Regions from separate parts of the Homo sapiens genome. Here region 2 is linked to region 1. The links are contacts of gene promoters, found by promoter capture Hi-C in human tissues and cell types (Jung and others, 2019). All regions are on one chromosome and are shown on one strand. Each heading gives the region's core, a stretch centred on a gene start or on the middle of the fragment in contact. The rest is flanking DNA. Distances are from core to core; before and after follow the strand shown. Region 1 holds the start of CYB5B (cytochrome b5 type B). Region 2 overlaps WWP2 (WW domain containing E3 ubiquitin protein ligase 2).

The links. The method cuts DNA at HindIII sites, captures the fragments that hold promoters and counts their contacts. A contact is called where the count stands out against the background at its distance.
Region 2: a contact is called between a fragment that was not itself captured here and the fragment with the promoter of CYB5B in region 1, in 1 of the 25 tissues and cell types used here (stomach).

What each region holds. Positions count from the first base shown.
Region 1 is chr16:69,419,125-69,426,173 of GRCh38, forward strand. It overlaps CYB5B (cytochrome b5 type B), which reads left to right and starts at 5,495. Exons shown (of 5, transcript NM_030579.3): 1 at 5,495-5,733. The coding sequence starts at 5,560. RefSeq lists enhancers at 4,778-5,325, 5,326-5,873. The HindIII fragment of the contact is 13,364 bases long and covers 1-7,049 here.
Region 2 is chr16:69,857,311-69,864,010 of GRCh38, forward strand. The region is part of intron 6 of WWP2 (WW domain containing E3 ubiquitin protein ligase 2); the gene reads left to right. Among named protein-coding and RNA genes, the nearest start is that of MIR140, 72 kb to the right of the region's middle. The HindIII fragment of the contact is 7,416 bases long and covers 1-6,305 here.

The DNA.
Region 1 (7,049 bases), core at 4,245-6,744:
AGCTCAGGAGTTTGAGACCAGCCTGGGCGACACGGCAAAACCCTGTCTCTACAAAAAATACAAAAATTAGCCGGGTGTGATGGTGGGAGCCTGTGGTCTCAGCTACTTGGGAGGTTGAGGTGGAAGGATTGCTTGCAAGCCCGGGAGGTTGAGACTGCAGTGAGCTGTGATCGTGCCACTGCACTTCAGCCTGGGCCACAGAGCAAAACCCTGTCTCAACAACAACAACAACAACCAAAAAAAAAAAAAAAAAAAAAGAAAAGAAAAGAAAAGAAAAAATATTCAACAGGATTCAACACCCTTTCTTAATAAAAACAAAATAAAAATAAAACAAACTCAGGAAACTAGATCCTCAAGATCCTCAAGCTGATAAAAGACATCTACTGAAAAATTATATTAAATTGTGAAAGACTGAATGCTTTCCTCCTAAGATTAGGAACAAGACAGGGATGCTAACTTCACCATTTCTATTCAACACTGTACTGAAAGTCCTAGCCAGTGCAACAAGGCAAGGAAAAAAGAGGCATACAGATTGGGAAGAAAGGTGGAAGCAAAGCTGTCTCTATTAGCAGACGACATATTTATTACATAGATAATTCTAAGAAATCCATAAAATAATTACAGGAACTATAAGTGAATTTGGCAAGGTATAAGATAGTAAGTCAATGTACAAAATCAATTATATTTATCTAGACTGGCAGCAAACAATTGGAAAATGAAATAATTTCATTTATAGGGGCATTAAAAAACGAAACATTTAGAAATAAATTTAATAAAAGATGCTAAAGATGTCTACATTGAAAACTACAAATTAAACTGAAGTAAATGGTTCATGAAATGTAAGGTTTTTAAGGTGTCTTTTTTCTGTAAATTCATCTATAAGCACTTTTGTAAAATTAAGAAGCTGATTTTTTTTTTTTTCTTCTAGAAACAGGGTCTCACTCTGCCACCCGGGCTGCAGTGCAGTGGCACAATCATAGCTCACTGTAGCCTCCAACTCCTGGGTTCAAGCAATCCTCCTGCCTCAGCCTCCCAGGCAGCTGAGACTATAGGTGCCCACCACCATGCCCAGCTAATTTTTACATTTTTTTAAAGAGATGAGGTCTTGCAGGCCAGGCACAGTGGCTCACGCTTGTAATCTCAGCATTTTGGAAGGCCGAGGTAGGCGGATCTCCTGAGGTCAGGAGTCCAAGACCAGCCTGGCCAACATGGTGAAACCCTGTCTCTACTAAAAATACAAAGAAATTAGCTGGGCATGGTCGTGGGCACCTGTAATCCCAGCTACTCAGGAGGCTGAGTCAGGAGAATTGCTTGAACCCGGGAGGCGGAGGTTGTACTGAGCCTAGATCATGCCACTGCACTCCAGCCTGGGTGACAGAGTGAGACTCGTCTCAAAAAAAAAGAGATGAGGTCTTGCTATGTTGTCGAGGTTGGTCTTGAACTCCTGAGCTCAAGCAATCCTTGTGCCTCAGCCTCCAAAGTGCTGGGATTACAGGAATGAGCCACAGTGCCCAGCAAAAAATAATAACTTTTTTTGTAATAATTTTAGATTTACAGAAAAGTTGCAAAAATAATACAATGAGTTTCTGTATACTCACTCAATTTTCCATAAAGATAGCATTTTACATTACCATAATATGTTTGTCAAAAGTAAGAAATCAACACTGGCACCTTACTGTTTTATTTGGATTTCACTAATTCTTCCCCAGTGCCCTTTTTCTGTTCTAGGATCCAGTCCAGGATACTATACTGCGTTTAATTGTCATGTCTCCTTAGTTTACTTGAGTCTGTGACAATTTCTCAATCTTTCCTTTTTTTTTTTTTTTTTTTATGAGCTTGTCAGTTTTGAGGAGTACTGGTCAGGCATTATGTAGAATGTCCCTCAGTTTGGGTTTACCTGATGTTTTTCCCATGCTTGGACTATGGTTATGGATTTTGTGGAAGAATGCCACAGTGGCAACATGCCCTTTTCATCACATCACACCGGGGGTACATGCTGTCAACATGATTTATTATGGAGATGTTTTAATTTGATCACTTGGTCAACAAGCTGATTTTAAATTGTGTGTGGGGCCGGGCATGGTGGCTCATGCCTGTAATCCCAGCACTTTGGGAGGCCGAGGTGGGCGGATCACCTGAGGTCCGGAGTTTGAGACCAGCCTGGCCAACATGGTGAAACCCCCTCTCTACTAAAAATATGAAAATTAGCCAAGTGTGGTGGTGGGGGCCTGTAATCCCAGCTACTCTGAACCCGGGAGGTGTAGGTTGCAGTGAGCTGAGATTGTGCCATTGCACTCCATCCAGTCTGGGTGATGAGAGTGAAAAAAAAAAATGTATGTGGAAATACAAAGGATCTAGAATAGCAAAAATAATTTTCAAAAGTTAAGAGCAAAGCTATAAGACTTATATTACCTGATTTAGTGCCTTACAATAATCAAGACTGTGGAATTGGCACAAGGATAAACAAATAAGTCATCGGAACAGAGTAGAAATTTCAGAAGGAGAACCACACTTATATGATCAATCAATTTTCGACAGATACAGGAAAACAATTCAAGGGGGAATTGTGTTTTCATCAAATGGTGCAGGAACAAGTGGGTATCCACATGGAAAAAAAGAGGCTAAGAAACCTGCCCAAGGTCACCAAGTTTGTGAGTGGCAGGGACAGGTATTCCAAGCCAGACTTTCTGGCTAACATGTGCTATCAATTGTAAATATAAATTTATAACCAAAACATTTAGGTCACAATAATTTTTCAGTGTAAAATTCAATTTGAGGCTATACTATTTAAAAATGTCAATGTCATGAAAGCAAAAGCAAAGTTAAGGAAATGTTCTAGATTAAAGGGGACTCAAGAGACTTAGCTAAGTGCAATACATGATCCTGAACTGGATCCTGGGTCATACAGGCACACTAAAATTTCACAAAGGACATGAATGCAATAATGGAAAATAATATGGAGAGTATGTTAGATAATAATTTTGTGTGAATGTTAAATTCTCTGAATTTGAAATTCATACTGCAGTTACGTGACAATATGTTCTTATTTTTAGAAGATACATGTAGAATTATTTGGCTGTAAAGGGTGGTGATATCTGAAATAGTTCAGCATTATTAACAACAATGATCAAAATAATATGGAAAAAATCAAATATTGAAAAATATTAACAGTTGGTAAACCTAAGCTAAAAGTATATGGTCATTCATTGTATTATTCTTGTAACTTACTTATTTGAAATTCTAAAAACATTTTCAAATATAATGTTACAGGTATATATCACTTAAGTGCTAGAATTTGTAATTTTTTTATTTTTTATTTTTATTTATTTATTTTTATTTTTTTGAAACAGGGTTTCGCTCTGTCATCCAGGCTGGAGCACAGTGGTGCGATCATACATCACTGCAGCCTCGACTTCCCAGGCTCAAGCCATCCCCAGATCTCAGCCTCTCAAATATCTGGGATTACAGTTGTGTGCCACCATGCGTAGATAATTTTTGTATTTTTTGAAGAGACAAGAGCCTCACTATGTTGCCCAGCCTGGTCTTGAACTCCTGGGCTCAAGTGATCTGTCCACCTCGGCCTCCCAAAGTGCTGGAATTACGGGGCTTGAGCCACCACATTCAGCCTGTAAATGTTTTTATTTCTTTCAGAGATTTTGTTTCTTATGTTATCTCTCTACTCCCAATGCCTATCATAAGACTTGTAACAGTAAATAGTAAATGTCTGGAATAAATGTAAATATTTGAATCTAGAGTTTGTGGAGGATCCTAAGAATCTTGTGAGATTGCTCTCATAGTGTCAGTCTAACTAGGGAGGTAAAATACGTAAAGTTAAAATTTACAGACGTAGCAGGCTTCCCAAAATAGTAATATGCTTTCTTAGGTACTACAAAGGGATGGAAGCACTGGAGCTCAAAACGGTAGGAGAAGTTTGAAAATAGAAGAAACTGAAGAGGAACTTGAAAAGCCGGTAGGCATTGAAAGGAAGAGGAGTCCTTGGGACAGCAATTGAGGGTAGAATGTGGAGTATCCCATGTTTCTACCACCATTCAGAATCCGATTTTCAAATGAATTCTGTGATGATCAGGATCAATCTGCACTATTTTAGTCTCTAAGTGATCTAAAATTAACTTGGTGGACCTGGGATGACCACGGATGTGGTTTTAAACCAGCAGGTTTCAGAGTCGGGGCGGGTGCAACAGGCTTATAAAGGGAATGGTGGAAAATATTATACGTTAGTGAAAGAGGTTGCGAATGGATTGTGGAGAGCCCTGAATGGTAGACTGCGAGAGTGACAGGATGAAAACGACGACATCATAGGAAGAGCAATCTGTCAGTTGTAATGGCAGTTAAAAAGTGGCGCACAACACTGTACCTTAACCAAACTTGGAATTCCAAAGTGCTGGGACCTCTAGCGGAGAGCAGTTGAGTTCAATTCTATTTTAGATCACGTAGAGACTAAAATAGTGCCGATTGATCCTGATCATCACAGAATTCGTTTGAAAATCGGATTCTGAATGATGGTAGAAACATAGGATACTCCACATTCTACCCCCAATTGCTGTCCGGGACAGCAATTGCCTTTCTAATCGACTGCCATGTTTAGCGATTACTATGCGCCAAGCGCTTTACAGGCACTCTCATTAAAATAGGCAAACCGGGCCAGGCGCGGTGGCTCACGCCTGTAATCCCAGCACTTTGGGAGGCCTACGCAGGCGGATCACCTGAGGTCAGGAGTTCGAGACCAGCCTGGCCAACATGGTGAAACCTACTCTCTACTAAAAATACAAAAATTAGCCGGGCGTGGTGGCGCATGCCTGTAGTTCCAGCTAGTCGAGAGGCTGAGGTAGGAGAATCGCTTGAACCTGGGAGGCGGAGTTTGCAGTAAGCCGAGATCGTGCCACTGCACTCTGGCCTAGGAGACAGAGCGAGAACTTGTCTCAAAAAAAAAAAAAAAAAAAAAAAAGGCAAACCCCTCTGTAAGAGAGTGCTTTATCAAGCCCATTTTACTGATGGGGAAATTGAGGAGAGACGGGATTGGCCAGATCACGACCTGGAGGCAGCAAAGATGTAAAATCAGGGTTGGGATACAGGCTGCGCCGGTAGTGTAGGGGATAGGAACTTTCTGAGACTCAGGAGAAAGCCACAGCGATGGGAAGGGAAGCAGAACACTGGAGACCCTAAAGGCCCACAGGCTGAGAGAAGTGGTACCTCTCCTGAAGTGACACCTGTCAGCACGCCTCTTTTGGGCGCCAGTCCAAAAATCGCGGTATCTGATTGGCGAGGTTGGAGGGGGCTGAACGACCCTAATTGGTTAGTTGGACCTCGAACCAGACTTTCATCTGGAGGATCGGGCGAGGAGTGGGCGGGATTTCGAACTGAGCCACTCCCTTCATTGGTGAAAAGAAAACGAACCAGGAACTATTCGGAAGTGTGATTGGCTGTTGCTAGGAACCGTCTCAAGGCCTTATGGGCCCTGGTTACGGAAGCCGAGGAAGGCTGAGCGCGGGCTCTCAAGGAAAGTAGTCGCGGAATCTCAGTTAGCGGTGGAGAGGCAGTATGTCCGGTTCAATGGCGACTGCGGAAGCTAGCGGCAGCGATGGGAAAGGGCAGGAAGTCGAGACCTCAGTCACCTATTACCGGTTGGAGGAGGTGGCAAAGCGCAACTCCTTGAAGGAACTGTGGCTTGTGATCCATGGGCGAGTCTACGATGTCACCCGCTTCCTCAACGAGGTGGGGCCTGGGAGGTGGGAGGCCTCTGAAGCTGCTGGGGCGAGGGGTGAAAAGGCTGTGTGGAGTGTATGTGGGAAGGAAGGGAGGCTTGGCTGGGGGCGATAAGGCGTAAGAAAGGGATCACGACCCTCAGAGGGAAACTGGGGTGGGATTGGGGGAGGGCTTTAGTTTGCATGCATTTCCAGTCAGCTCCGAGTTCTGGTGCCTTATGTAATATCATGTATTACTTATGTGTCGAGCATTTGCTGTGTGCTCAGCTAAACTCTAAGCCATCATTATCTTTATTTTACAGAAAGGGAAACTGAGGCTCACAGGTTGAGGACTCTCAGGGCCATAGAGTTAGCAGCTTAGATCCGTTGAACCTAGGTCTGAAGTGCACCCACATCTGTGCTTTTCCAGTGTGCCTTCTGAAGTAATACCGGTTTTGGTTTTCGTCTTCTAGAGTAGAAGCTGAGATTTCTCTCCACACGCTTCCCCATCTTGATTATGCCTCCACTGTTTTTTTTTCCCCCTAATCTGAGTTGACCTTGAGGCCAGAAACTCATAAATCAACCCTTTTTTTTTGTTTTTGACTCATGTTTTGTCATTTTTCTTAAATATTCAAGACTGTTTTATTTAATCTTCAAGTCTGTTGCATTACATCTCATTTTAAAAATTATTTTTGAGACCATGGTGCAACTAATTTTTTTTTTAAGGAAACAGGATAGACTTCTAAATATTTAAAACTTTATTGAGGTGTAATGTACATACGTAAATTGTGCCTATCTAAAATGTACATTTTGATGAGTTTTGAAAAATGTATTCATCCATGTTAAGACATAAACCATTTCCATCATTCTAAAAAGCTTCCTTTCCCTTTGCAGTCATTCTCTCCCAACCCCAGGCAACTAGTGATATGCAGCCGCTAAAGATTGGTTTGAAGCTTTGATTTTCGGTGTGTGTATGTTTGAAGCTTTGATTTTCGGTTTGTGTGTGATCATTTTATTTTGAGCAATAGATTAATGACTTGTGAAAGTTCACTTCTATTTCTCTGAAGCAAATATACTAGTGAAATATTTTTTCGATTAATTTGGGGCCTAAAAGAGAAATCTCTGCATCCTGACTTTTAATTCTAAAAACTTTTAAAATTTAAAAGTTTCCCCCAAAGAACATTATTTTTAATAAATCTTAATAGTGAACAATAATTTAACAAACTCAGAATTTACTAACTTCTTGCATTTGTATGGTGTATGGCATTTTATGCTTTTAAAAGTGCTTTCCGGTCGGGCGCGGTGGCTCACGCCTGTAATCCCAGCACTTTGAGAGGCCGAGACGGG
Region 2 (6,700 bases), core at 1,348-3,847, 440 kb after region 1:
TCTCGAACTCCTGACCTCGTGATCCACCTGCCTTGGCCTCCCAAAGTGCTGGGATTACAGGTGTGAGCCACCACGCCTGGCGTAACTTTCCACTTTCCACTGTGTTTGGTCTGCCTTTTCAAGAAAAGTCTTGATGGGTTGAAGGTATCTTTGGCTCCCTGACTATTTGATAATGGAGTGTGAAATTCTGCATCCAGTGGTGTGAAGAGAGCAAGAGCTCATTGACTGGCTCCCGGCCTGAAGGTTTTCTGTTTGGCCTTATGCTGAGTTTTATATACAGCATGTCTATATTTTGGGTCTACTTTGTGTGTTTTGTGTTTTCAAATGGCCTTTGAAGGTCAACTCTTTTTTTTTTTTTTTTTTTTTTTTGAGACAGGGTTTCGCTCTGTCACCCAGGCTGGAGTGCAGTGGCACAATCACAGCTCACTGCAGCCTCGACCTCCCAGGCTCAAGTGATCTTCCCACCTCAGTCTCCCAGGTAGCTGAGACTACAGGTGTGCGCCACCATGCCTGGCTAATTTTTAAATTTTTTTTTGTAGTGACAGTGTCTTCCTGTGTTGCCTAGTCTGGTCTTGGATCCTCTTTCCTCAGCCTCCCAAAGTGTTGGGATTATAGGCGTAAGCTACCGCATCCGGCCTAACAGTACAACTCTATAACGACAAAATGACACAAAGAAAATTTAATGAAATTAGTGAAAACCTAGAGTAGGATGTGGTGCAGATACTCATTATTTTGTAGTGGAGAATGGGAGATTAGGGCCCGGTTGGTTTTGTTCCTTTTCTTTGAAATTTTACCTTTAGAACCAGTAAAAAAAAAAAGTTTTCTTTTAAATAAAGTTATACATTTTTCTTTACACTTAGAAAAAGGATGATGAATTGGAGACTTCCGAGGAGTTATTTCTTCCACCTGGTTTGTGGTTTTTTTGGGGAGGAAGGGGCTTGGGGGAAGTGGTGCTGAAGCTTTCACTCAAACACCAGGCCACGGCTCTGTGTGCCTCATTCATCTTTGTGTCCCCAGCAGGACCTAGAATAGTGCCTCACTGCACGTAGTAGCAGCTCAATAAATATTTGCTGAGCTGAAAGAGTCTCGTGTTCCTGCTCTTCATTCGCCAAAACTTCTGGGTGGGTCATGTTGCTGGTTTACGTTCCCTGGCGCCTTGACTCCTGAGATGCGATAATTTGAGGACCACAGAGAAGAGGGGGCGCCCTTTATCACAGCCGCCTTGTGCTTGCAAGGTGAACCACCAAGAGTGTGCTGGGGTCCCACTGCCTGCACAGTCTCTGTGGCTTCATCTGTTTTTTTCTTCATGATTGATATTTCTGTGTTGAATGCTTTTCACCGACTGTTCTTTTCAAATCCTTGCAGCTTTTAAGGTTAGTATTGGAATCAGAGAAGAATTGACACATAAATAAGTCTTGTTTGGGAAAAGAAGGTGTAAAGTCCGTGTACTTCAACTCTGCCAGAAAAGAATGTTACTTACCCTCTAAGAATAGGTAATATCTCATTTATACTAGGTGTTCAAATTCCCAAGTGATTATTGAATCTTAGGATTGAGTGTCTCCTTGAGGACATTAGGATCACTGGAATGCTGCTCCTTCGACATGGGCACTGGATCCCACAGAGTGATGCCATAACTGTATGAGGGCTGCTGAACTAGACCAGCAAGAACTGGGTCAAGGCTGTTCCCTAGTCATGCATGTATTTGAGAGTTCCATCTTCTACTGTGGAAATTGAATTGTCATTTATTTGCATTCATTTTCTATTGCTCTGTAACAAATCACCACAAACTCAGGGCTTAAAACAACACCATTTATTAGCTCACAGTTCTGTAGGTCATAAGTCCAGGATCACACGGCTGACTTTTCCCTTCAGGGTCTCACAAGGCCAAAATCAAGGCTCTGGCAGGACAACATTCTTATCTGCATACACTGGGGAAGAATTCATATCAAAGGTCATTCAGGGCTGGGCACAGTGGCTCACGCCTGTAATTCCAGCACTTTGGCAGGCTGAGGTGGGCAGATGGCTTGAGTACAGGAGTTTGAGACCAGCCTAAGCAACATAGCCAAACCCCATCTCAACAAAAAAAATACAGAAATTAGCTAGGCATGGTGGCGCATGCCTGTCATCCCGGTTACTCAGGAGGCTGAGGCGGGAGGATCGCTTGAGCCCAGGGAGGTCGAGGATGCAGTGAGCTGTGATTGCACCACTGCACTCCAGCCTGGGCGACAGAGGGAGACCCTGTCTCAAAAAAAAAGAAAAAGAAAAAAAAAGTCATTCAGGTCCTTAGCTGAATTTAGTTATTTGCAGTTGTAGGACTGAGGTGCCCATTCCTTGCTGACCATCAGCGGGGGTCCCTCTCAACTCCTTAAGCTTCCCCCTGGCCCCGACCCCTGCATTCCTTCTCACGGTGCCCCCTCCACCTTCGAGCCAGGAAAGGAGTGTCAGATCTCCCTGTGATTTGAATCTCTCTGATTTTCTCTCCTGCCACCTGCTGGAGAAGGCGCTCTGCTTCCAGGAGGTGATGTGATGCTAATTAGACTGAGAGAGCACCGCCCCCCACCCCCGCCCCGCCCGATGATCCCCTTTCTTAAGGTCTGCTGTGGTACACGACGACATACTTGACGACATACTCAAGGGTGTGGCACCTTGTCATATTCACAGGTTTTAGGCATTGGAGGGGGGCTAGAGTGAGAGGGATGTCATTTTAGAAATTCTCCCCACAGTAGAAAGACTCTCTCTAATGGGCCAGCCATGGTGGCTCAGACCTGTAATCCCAGCACTTTGGGAGGCCGAGGTGGGAGGATCACTTCACCTTAGGAGTTCAAGACCCCCATCGCTATAAAAAAAAATCAAAAAAATTAGCCAGGCGTGGTGGTCCGATTCCATTCTTTAAAGGAGTCGGGGAGGTGATGAGTGACTGGATTGGAAAGAATATGCAAAGTACTGGAGGTTACAGGCCCAAGAGTGATTTTGAACCTGACAGCTTGCATCTTTCCTTCATTCAACAGATATTTCCTGAATCCTACTGTGGGCCAGGCACACACTAGGTGCTGAGTCTCCAGAGGTTCACAAAACAAGACATGATCTCTGCCCTCATGAATGTGTAGTGACACATAGCAGTGCCATAAAGGGAACAATTAGGATGTTATGAGAGAATGAAAGGAAATTTACTGTAGCCTGGGAGATGAGGGACATTTGGACTGAGATTTGGCCTAGGAATTTGGCCACCTGGGTGGAAAGTCCAGGAAGAGAATGCCGGGCAAGTAGATCAGCAAAGGGTCTGACTCTCCCTTGGTAGGGGTCTAGAGAGGTATTTTGAGGGATGTCCATTGAACATATTCTTTTTGGAGCCTGCCTCCGTCCTGCTGAATTCCTGCCTTGTGATTTGTCGTGTCAGAACACTTAGAAATAATGCTCTACCCAGCTCATGCCTCTAATCCCAACACTTTGGGAGGCCGAGGCTGGAGGATTGCTTGAGGCCAGGAGTTTGAGACCAGCCAGGACAACATAGCAAGACTCGATCTCTAGTTAAAAAAAAAAAAAGGAAAGAAAGAACACTCTAATATACTGTAGTCCCCCATTCATTCAAGGTCCTGTGTAGTCCTTTCTGGTCTGGAGCTATAGTAAAAGGAGGCAGTGAGTGGGCCAGATTCAAACAGGGAATGATGCCAGTAGCGAGAAAGTGAAGAGGCTTTTCTGGCGCACCTGTACAGGTTGTGCTCTGCATTCCTTGGGGGCCAGCCCCATGGAGATTCCTCCTGTGCACAGTGGAGGTTGATGGGGATGCTCATCTCCTAAGCGGCAACAGTGTCCTATGCACTCATAATTCAGGGTCAGGGGATCTCAGGTCATAGGACAAATCACAGGCTGCTGTCTCTGTTCAGGGTACCTCAAGCCATCAATGGCCACGTTGAGCAGGTGAACACTTCCCCTCTGAACTCTCTAGCTCTCTTTGAAGTTTGGGAGGGCATTTGAGCACTCTTCTCAGCTAAGCCCAACATACGGCCTGGAAGTAGATTGGACAAGTCACCATTTACTATACCTTCTCTCTCAAGGTGAGTTTTTTTAGTCTAATGAAATTGCCACCTTTGAGAAGGTTGCTCTGTACTCTAGGGTGCGCAAAAGGAAATTGTTTGTCTTCCGGAAGTCTTTCTGTAATTTAGAATGGACTTGGCAGCGATTTTATTTTTACCTTCCCTGTCATTTGTGAGGCTGGCAGTCCAGAGGTAGGGTGTGGAATGGAGCCGTAAATTGCGCTTGCAGTGACCAGAAGGGGCCCATTTTAACTCTAATTGTGCCTTTCCCGGTTCACTTCTCCTTTTACCCGCCCTCTCCTTTTTTTTTTTTTTTCTAATCCACATTTGAGTGGGGAGGAAGAATTGAGGGGGGTGCAGGTGGGAGTAGGTTTATTTATTGGCGCTTCTCTGGGTGGTGGACACTGTTTCTTTTCCCATTACGGCTTCCTTTTTTATTTTTTCATGCTTCTATTTTAAGTGCCTGTTTCTTTCTGGTTCTGTCTTGCTGGAAACTGGCCCAGCTCCACTGAATTTTTTTTTCCATGCAGCTATTAAAAGACAATGACCAGTTAAGAGTGTGCTCAGAGGAAGGACAGACTTGAGGTGGGGAGCCCTCTTGGTTCTAGTAATCCTAGGCAAATACCGCTTACCCGGATTGGAATGTGAGAGGAGTTTTATTAGGTAATTTTACTTTTTGTGCCTGTTTTATAGGAGGAAAATCAATAATCAGGTTGTTTTGTTTTGTTTGTTTGTTTTGAGACAGACTTTCGCTCTTGTTGCCCCGGCTGGAGTGCAATGGTGTGATCTCGGCACACTGCAACCTCAGCCTCCAGGGTTCAAGTGATTCTCTTGCCTCAGCCTCCTGAGTAGCTGGGATTACAGGCATTCGCCACCATGCCCGGCTAATTTTGTATTTTTAGTAGACACGGGATTTCTCCATGTTGGTCAGACAGGTCTGGAAGTCCCGACCTCAGGTGATCCACTCACCTCGGCCTCCCAAAGTGCTGGGATTACAGGCGTGAGCTACCGCGCCTGGCCCTTGTTTTGTTTTTTTGAGATGGAGTCTCGCTGTGTCACCTAGGCTGGAGCGCAGCAGCAGGATCTCTCTCAGCTCACTGCAGCCTCCATTCCCCAGGCTGGTCTCGAACTCCTGACCTCAGGCAATCCAACCACCTCGGCCTTCCAAAGTGCTGGGATTACAGGCATGAGCCACCATGCCTGGCCAGTAATCAGTTTTTATACCTTGAAACTTCTCTTTTGCTGAACTTGAATACCAGTGGGCCTGAATCTGGGGTCAATGAACCTCCCTTTCATATTCTGGGCCTCTTTTACCAAGATAGAAAAGTATGCTTGGAACCTGGTATCCAGCCAGCCATGAATTCTTTTTTTTTTTTTTTTTTTTTTTTTTGGAAACAGGGTCTCTTGCTCTATTGCCCAGGATAGAGTGTAGTGGTGTGAGTGTGATCACAGCTCACTGCGGCCTCGACCTCCCCAGCTCAAATGATTCTCCCACCTCAGCCTCCCGCATAGCTGGGATCACAGGCACTTGCCACTATACCTGGCTAATTTAAAATAATTTTTTATGGAGACGAGGTCTCCCTGTGCTGCCAGGCTGGGTTTGCACTCTTGGGCTCAAGCAGTCCTCCGCCCTTGGCCTCCTAAAGTGCTGGGATTACAGGTGTGAGCCGCCACCCCCGGCCTAGCCATGAATTCTCGGCATTTGGGAGAGATATGTCCCTAGTCTTTATAGAATCCTACATGTATTAATTTAGAAATGTTTGTAGGGTCTTGAATTTTGCCTGAATCACATTCCCATCCACATTCTTGCTGTTTTTTTGACCATACCCTCACGCCATACCTGCCTTCTACAACTTTTGCTCACTTTTACATTTTCTCCACAAATGGCTTTTTTAAATTATTAAGTTACTATAATTTACAAACAGTAAAATTTACCCTTACTAGTGTATAGTTCTGTAAGTTTTGACAAAAGCATACAGCCAGGTAGTCACTATCATAATCAAGATACAGAAAGGCTGGGCGTGATGGCTCATGCCTGTAATCCTTGCACTTTGAGAGGCCGAGGCGGGTGAAGTCCTGAGGTCAGGACTTCAAGACCAGCCTGGCCAACATGGTGAAACCCCGTCTTTACTAAAAACACAAAAATTAGCTGGGCGAGGTGGCAGGCGCCTGTAATCCCAGCTACAAGGGAGGCCGAGGCAGGAGAATTGCTTGAACCTGGTGGGGGCAGAGGTTGTAGTGAGCCGAGATTGCGCCACTTCACTCCAGCCTGGGTGAAAGAGTGAAACTCCGTCTCAAAAACAAACAAAGAAACAAACAAACAAAAGATACAGAAAGTTTCATCACCCCAGAAAGTTCCCCAGTGCCCCTTTGTAGCCAGCTCCTCCTTGTACCCGTCGCTGCTGGCAAGCATGGATCTGTATTCTTTCTCTAAGTTTGACCTCTTCTTGAATATCTTAAAAATGGAAATGTACACGTATAGCCTTTGGTGTCTTTTACTTAGCATAATGCGGTTGTGATTCACCTCTGTTGCTGCATGTACCAGCACTTTATTCCTTTTATGCATTGAGTTTATTCCACTATGTGTATGTACCACAGTTGGTCTACTCATTCACCAATTGAAGGACTTGGAGTTGCTTACAGTATTTGGCGCTTACAAGCAAAGC